2 separate regions of the Homo sapiens genome follow, and region 2 is linked to region 1. The links are contacts of gene promoters, found by promoter capture Hi-C in blood cells and fetal thymus (Javierre and others, 2016). All regions are on one chromosome and are shown on one strand. The core of a region is centred on a gene start or on the middle of the fragment in contact, and the rest is flanking DNA. Distances in the headings are between cores, read along the strand shown. Region 1 holds the start of CLSTN2 (calsyntenin 2). Region 2 overlaps COPB2-DT (COPB2 divergent transcript).

What was found. Contacts are between HindIII fragments. The CHiCAGO score rates a contact against its expected background, and 5 or more counts as called.
Region 2: a contact is called between a fragment that was not itself captured here and the fragment with the promoter of CLSTN2 in region 1, in 2 of 17 cell types (erythroblasts and megakaryocytes). The highest score is 5.9, in erythroblasts.

Annotation. Positions count from the first base shown.
Region 1 is chr3:139,933,381-139,936,846 of GRCh38, reverse strand. CLSTN2 (calsyntenin 2) reads right to left here and starts at 1,662. Exons shown (of 17, transcript NM_022131.3): 1 at 1,364-1,662. The coding sequence starts at 1,472. RefSeq lists silencers at 1,515-1,574, 1,615-1,664. The HindIII fragment of the contact is 3,275 bases long and covers 1-2,828 here.
Region 2 is chr3:139,438,724-139,442,189 of GRCh38, reverse strand. All of the region lies in intron 3 of COPB2-DT (COPB2 divergent transcript), which reads right to left. Among named protein-coding and RNA genes, the nearest start is that of RBP2, 36 kb to the left of the region's middle. The HindIII fragment of the contact is 2,693 bases long and covers 222-2,914 here.

The DNA.
Region 1 (3,466 bases), core at 413-2,912:
AATGCCTGCTTATAAAATATTTTCAAAACGATGACACCAAAAAATTTAAAAATTACAGATAAACATAATCTCCCATGTTCTTCTCAAATATATCACTCCTAAGTTATTGGAGGGCCAGTTTCTAAAGCCCAGACAAGGCGAACTGCCTGCCTCCAGCTCTCCCCAACCTCCAAGAGTAATGCAGCCTGATAGGCATTTCCTCCCCTAAGCTAGTGGTCAAGTGTAGCTCAAAGCAAGCGTCCGAATCAGGCTGTCTCTAACAGGGAATCTATTTTCTGACAGGCGCAAACCCCTCCGCCCTCTGATGATTGCCAGGCAGGATTTGGGGACCAAGTACCCCTCATTGTCACCTGGCGGATTTGGCCACAGTCCACAAACCAAACGCAAGCCCTACTTATGAACAGCGCAGAGAATCAACAAGTTATCACTAAGCTGTGCGCCCCAGCTAGGATCTGCCACAGCCTCCCCTGAGCCCACCACTGTTCCCCACCAGCTCTGCTCTTCCCTCGCCTCCCCACCCCCTGCAAGCACGTGACCTCCTGTTTCAGACCCGGCCCCCCACCCCAGAGCTCCCGACGCTCCCAGGCAGCTGTCAAAGTCCGGGGTTCGCCGGCTTCCAGGCTCGCCTGACAGAGCCAGGCGTTCGCTTGGATCTAGCTTCCTTCCGGGCGGGAGGCGCGGGGAGGTCAAGCTCTTCAAAGGAACAGGGTGGGCAGGGGAGTGGTGCCAGGTTAGGCTCCTCGGTCCTCGGTAGTCAGAGCGGAGTAGGAAAGGCAGCGGGGAGCCTCACATCCCGCGCTTCTTCCGGACCCCGCCGCCTACCCGGAGGGTACACGTTCCCCGGGGAGTCAGAGACGCCCTGGGGGAGCTTGAGGAGTGTCAGCGGGGCCTTCCCTGGAGCCTACAAGTTTCCACTCCATCCCCGAGCTGGGAGACAAGTCACAGCTCGGCTCCCTCCTTGAAAGCACCGCCGCTGATCCTTCCCCCAGGCAGGAGCAGACACCTGCTTGTCCCCACGGCGCGCCAGCGCCCTGCTCTAGCCGTCCCTGGGCCAGAGCTCGAAACTCACCCACTGCGCTCCCACCCCGGCACAGACAGCCCTCAAAGTTGTCCGTACTCCCCAGACCTCGCCTTCTGCTCAGCCCCCGGACCCCGCCCAGGGGTTGAGTTGACGTCCGCGGGTGGACCTCTCTGGTCCGCTGCGCAGGGAACTGACTTCGGGAATCCAGGGCGCACAGAGGCCAAAGAAGCTGCGGCAAGGGAGGGTGGGCAAATCCAGCTTGAGCCTAGGTCCTTGCCGCTTTCACCCTCAAGCCTGCCCTGCCTCCCTCCTGGGAGAAGAGCAAACTTCCCCAGCACCCACCTTTAGCCGCGAGGAGGCGGCGCTGCCGGCTGTCCCCGCCACCGCCGCTGCCGCTCCCCACGCCCAGCGCCAGCAGGAGCGGCACCCAGCACAGCCGCCCAGGCAGCATCCTCGCAGCAGCCGCCAACGAGCTGCAGCCGCCGCCTACTGTCCGCGCCGGCTCTCGCCTCCCGGTGCCTGCCGCACCGTGGGCCGCCTCGCCGTGCCCGATGGGTGCGCTTCTAGCGCTGCCGCCGCGGCGCTCGGCCTCGGGTTCCCGCCGCTGCGCCGCTAGCTCGCCGGCAGCAGCCGCGCTCACTGGCGCGGACCCGGAGCGGCTCAGGCGCTCACCCCGGGACGGCCCGTGACGTCACGGAGGGAGGGAGGTGGCTCGTGCATATTCATGAACGCGGGCATCGGCGCCGGGTTCCGCGCTCCCCGCCCCAAGGCCCCGACCCCCAACTTTCCTCAGCCGTCTCCACGCTCCGGGGCCCTGTCCAGGTCCCCCTGCCCAGTCGGGACCGGGCCCCCAGAGGACCCTGGTGGGCGGCTCCGGAGAGCCCTCCAGCCCCGCGCCTCCACTCCGACTCTCGGAAAAGCTGCCGCAAGGGATGGAGGGCTCCCCCAGAAAGTGGCCACCCGAGGCCTGAGGGTCATCTGGGGTGGCGCGAGGGACCCTGACCTGCCATGCCCTTTGAACTGATATCTGGGCGGAGAGGACTGACGGGCGTCGCTAAGGGTCTTGCCCTTGGCTGGGTCTCTGGGCGTTCTGCGTCGACTGGTCTGGGGAGGGCGCCAGGCGCACACTAGAGCAGCGCCTAGTGGTGCTAGGGGTTGTCGGGCAGAGTAGATAGCCTTGGACCTGGATGGCAATGGCAGGGCTCCGCGTCATCTCCGAGAAGCAGGGGCAGCCGCGGCTCTTAGAGGCTGATAGAACAGCTAGATCAGAAAACTTGGGGTGCTGGGCCTGCTGAGGCTGCAGTGGCGGGGGCGGGGTGTCAAACTTAAAATTCCCTGCGGTATGGTGCCATGCAAGAAGTTGCCACCTTTATGTTGTCACTCCGCATCTCTAAGAACAGGCTACTTGACGTCATGCATTGTAAAATCTCGTGCCGTTGAGTATTGTCAGTTCCCTGAGTGCAGGAGCCAGTGCATATCTTTGCATCCTCAACCATCTCTAGGCCGTGAAAAAATTACAAAGGTACTCAAAAAAAAAAAAAAAAAAAACAGTAAGGACTCAGAATAAATCCTTGACCATATTTACCTAAATGAAATGCCAACATCACACACAATGCAGGGTTTATGAGGAATAGTTTGGAAATAAAGTAGATATGGAAATACAGAAACAAACAATATTATTTATTTAGTCATTGATTCAAGACGTTTGCTGAGCATCTAGACAGGCTGTATCACCCTGACAGTGAGCACTGGATTAGTCGTTGGAGATCCAAAGACAGAGGAGAGAGTGGGTCCTATCCTCAAAGCTTTTGTTCCCTGCTTGGGGAGCCAGAGAGGGCAGCAAAGGCAATTACAATCCCTTGTAAGTGTTATGGTCCTGCACATTCTTTATGTTGCTAGCTATGAGCCTATACAAATCAATTAACAAAATGTATATATTGCAAGAGTGCCTAAACAGCATCCTCTAATTAATAACTGTAGTTTGAGGTACTCAACAAAGCCATAAAATCCATTAACAGCACTCCTGCAGCTCAGCCTCCCTCTGCTGCCCTGGCAGCTCACTCAGAGCCTCTGCAGTGGTGAAAGCCAACTCTTCAGGATTTCAGGCACCAGGATGTGCTTGGGGACAGCAGTGAATCATGGTGGCTGCATGGGGCTCAGACCCATGTGGGGCTCTTTACCTTCAGGTCTCCTTTAGCCCACAAATCAACATGTGCGCTATTATTCTCATTTCACACATGATGAAATAGAGGCTCAGGGAAGTTAGGTAACTTCCTTGTTCAGGGTCAAAAATCTAGTAAATGTCCCAGGCCGACACCAGGACCTTGCCTTTGTCAGATGTTGGTTTCAGAATCTAGAAAAGATGGCATGGAAAGGTGGTAGCTGACCCAGGGAAAATAAAAAAGCCAGAAAATAGAAGAGAAATGTAAATTTGTCTCATTTTCT
Region 2 (3,466 bases), core at 319-2,818, 490 kb after region 1:
AAGGCTCTCTGATGCTCAGAACACCCAAGGAACCTGTCCACATTTCCCAGCTGTGGAGCAGCAGAGCCTGCAATAAACACAGATTGGAAAGCCCCCCTTGCTTTAAGCAAGTGCTGGTTAATGTCCTACAATAGGACTGTTATGAGCACTACATTTCATAGTGCAGGAGAGAAGAGCATTGGCTAATGGGGCTTTCTCAGGAATTCCATGTCAGATAAGCTTTTGTTTGTTAAGCATTCACTGGATGCAGAGCCCTCTCCAGGCTCTAGGATCTGAGCTGCCACCCAAGTCAGAAGCAGAGGCCTGGTGTCCTTTGAAATCCTGATTCTACTCAGCTGCTTCTTTCTGAGCTCCAGAATGTGAAAATGATACATGTGGGAATAGTGGGCTCCACTGTATTCAGGCTTGTGTTCTCTTTATGGGTGGGCAGTGGGTGCGCATGAGGCCAGCAGGGAATGATGCCAAAGAAAACTGAGGTTCTTGTATGCCCTAGAGATGGGCTCTGGGTGGCTGAGCAGGTCAGACCATGAGAAGAGGCACTTGAAAACAAAGAAGAGGAAGAAGGATTTTTAGGTTCTGCCCCCATCGTGGCTTTCTGGATGCCAGGAGGAATTATTGGTGAGCGTCCAGCTGGACCCCAATCAGTGATGCTGCTGACTCTCTGGAACCTGCCATTTTGCTCCTATTCACTTGTCTTTCATTTTTTGCCATACATCACCCTGCTTTAAAAAGAGACCTCTAACTGACTGTACAATGACATCCCTGCTCAGGCAGTCTCCCAGCCCTGCCCTGCCTCTCCCCTGCAATATTTCCTCAGATGCAGTGGCCAAGGCAGGTCATCCTCATGCCTGAGAAATCACTGAAAGGGGAATCTGGCTGAGCCCCCAGCTCCCAACCACAACCCTTTCCCTCCCTGCTTTCAACTCTGCTAAATAAGAAAGCTGGCTCAGGCATGGTATGAAGGATACTATCTTGTCCTGCCTCTCAAAAGCAATGGGCACCACTTTACGAACCAGTTGGCATGGCGACTGAGCCAAGAGGATGCTTTCAAAATGAGCAATTTAACATAAAATGATCCTTGCATTTTTAACTGAATGTCACATTCCCGTAATTGTAGGACAGCTAATTGGGTAATTGTTCAAAATGTCTTATTTCTGTTCTCATTCCACTGAATGTGTATACATGCAAGCACACACACACACAGTCACACACACACACAGAGTCACACTCACAATGGGCCATGCTACTAATGCCATGGTTACCAATGACCAAATTCATGAAGCATTTGACCTCAATGCTGGACAATTTGGTGGCTATTGATTCATCAGCGTCATCACTACCTAACTGTGTTCAACCCGACACAGGCCCTTCTTCATTCCCCTCCTCTCATACAGAGGATGTTTGTGACTTTCAAGACGTCAAACCTGTACTCTCACACACCCACTCCAACAGAGGGGAAATCTGCCTGGTCAGGGAACTCTGACTTAAGAAAGTTATGGCATGGCTCTGCCTATGTTTTTGAATTCCGAAGCCCCAGCCTAAGCATGTGTCCAGGGTTTATTGTATATCCATCTTTTAACATTAATTCCATGAAAAGCATACGTGTTGTCATCTGAGACAAAACTGCCTGTTTATTTGTTCTGATTTAATCCTGGATTCCATGGCATACATGCTTGGTGCCTGAACTGGAACCCAGCTCTTTGAATTCACTGCTTTGGTATACTAGTTGCCACAAAATATTTTTTGTTGTAAACATTGTTTCCGAAACTCTAATCTGGTGAGCAATTCCGTTTTGCTGGGTTCCTATGTTAAACTGACTTTAGAGAGAAGGTATCCACCATACCTCAGGACAGACTGTCCCTCCAAAAAGAGCATGGAGGACTGGTTAACTCATCTTAATTATTTTTTTAAATTCAAATTGCTGCTCTGAATAAACTAGAAGTAGCCACATGTGCTCAACTTGTGTTTCAGCCTGGGGCAGCAGACTGAGTCTGCTGTTTAATTGTGCTGAAATCCAGAGATGAAAAGCTGGTAACCAAGAGTCTGTCACCCAGAGGGGGTAATGGAAACCCCACTCCATCTCAGATGACAGACACCATTCTGACCTTTTATTGCTGATTGCAAGCCTTTTGAGTATAAAGCATTCTCTTTTGTTCTGATTTTCTGACAACTGTTTAATCATGTTCTATTCATAGAAATTACAGTAAAATTCTGTTGTTTCTCATGTATCAAACAAGATAATGCACATGGAAATCAAGTTCTGGAAATGAATAATAAAATCCTAAACCTCCCAGCAGTAGTGAAATCCTGAAGTGTGCTGAAGGCGAGGTATGTAGGTACAGACTGGGAGGCATAGAAGACATTCATCCTGCCACAAACATTTCCAAATACATTTGCCCTCAAACCAAGGTCCAATCATCAATAAAATGAAAGTCCAATTTTAACAGCACAATGGAAAAACTTTGAGTAGGGAACTGACATTTATTATCTTTAATGTACATTATTTTATCCGATCCCTACAATGGCCCTATAATGTATGTTCCATTAACTCCATTTTATGGACAAGGGAACCGAGGCTAGGGATGAGAGACAATGCCCCAAGGCTGCCTGGTCAATAAGCTGCTGGGTGCTGATTCTAAAGGCCTCATTCTGATTTTCAAAACATTTCAACTGCCACAACTCCAGTGTCCCATCAGCTGCCTGCCCAGCTGGTCATAGGTCACTTCAGGCCAAGCAGCTGTTCCTGAGACAACCTGAGGGCTCATGGCTGAAGAATTGTCCTAAGGACAAGCAAAGTGGCCACTCACTAAGAAGCAAACATAACCCAGTCTCCTTTCTTCTGTGTCTTCCTTATCCCACAGTGCTTCAGGTACCTCAAAAGCCTCTTGGCTCAAGGAAGGCAGATAGACAAGCTTTTTCTTTTTTTTTTTTTTTTTTTAAAGAGGGCAAAGCATTTTTATTGTTGTTTTAAATAAAAGTGATACATATTTGATGTAAAAAATAAACTTCAATGCAATATAGAGAAGTGCAAAAAATGGCAAAAAATTAGAACGTTGATAACATCTTGGCAAACACCCAGTTGGGCACTTTTCTGAACATAAGCACGTGATCATAGGTGTGCAGAAGAGCCTCAGGAGGGTCTCCTCTTTCATGCTGTTCCATAATCTAATTATTCTCACGCAGAATTAGAAAGTGCAGGTATAATTCCTTCTTTTTTCAACACTGTGTGGTATTCCACTTTTTAAATTTCCAACGAATCCCTGACTGTATACATTATTTTTGCTATTACAAACAACAGAACATCCTTTAAAATATATAGTTTTTGTCTGTTTGTTTCTTATGTATCTGTGATTATCTCCCTAATCATTAATTCCCAAAAGCAGTGAGTTAACCAAAAATCTAAGACCTTTGCTTTCTCTTCTTTTTCTTTCATTGCTATAAAAATCGGAACAAAAACCAGCTGCCT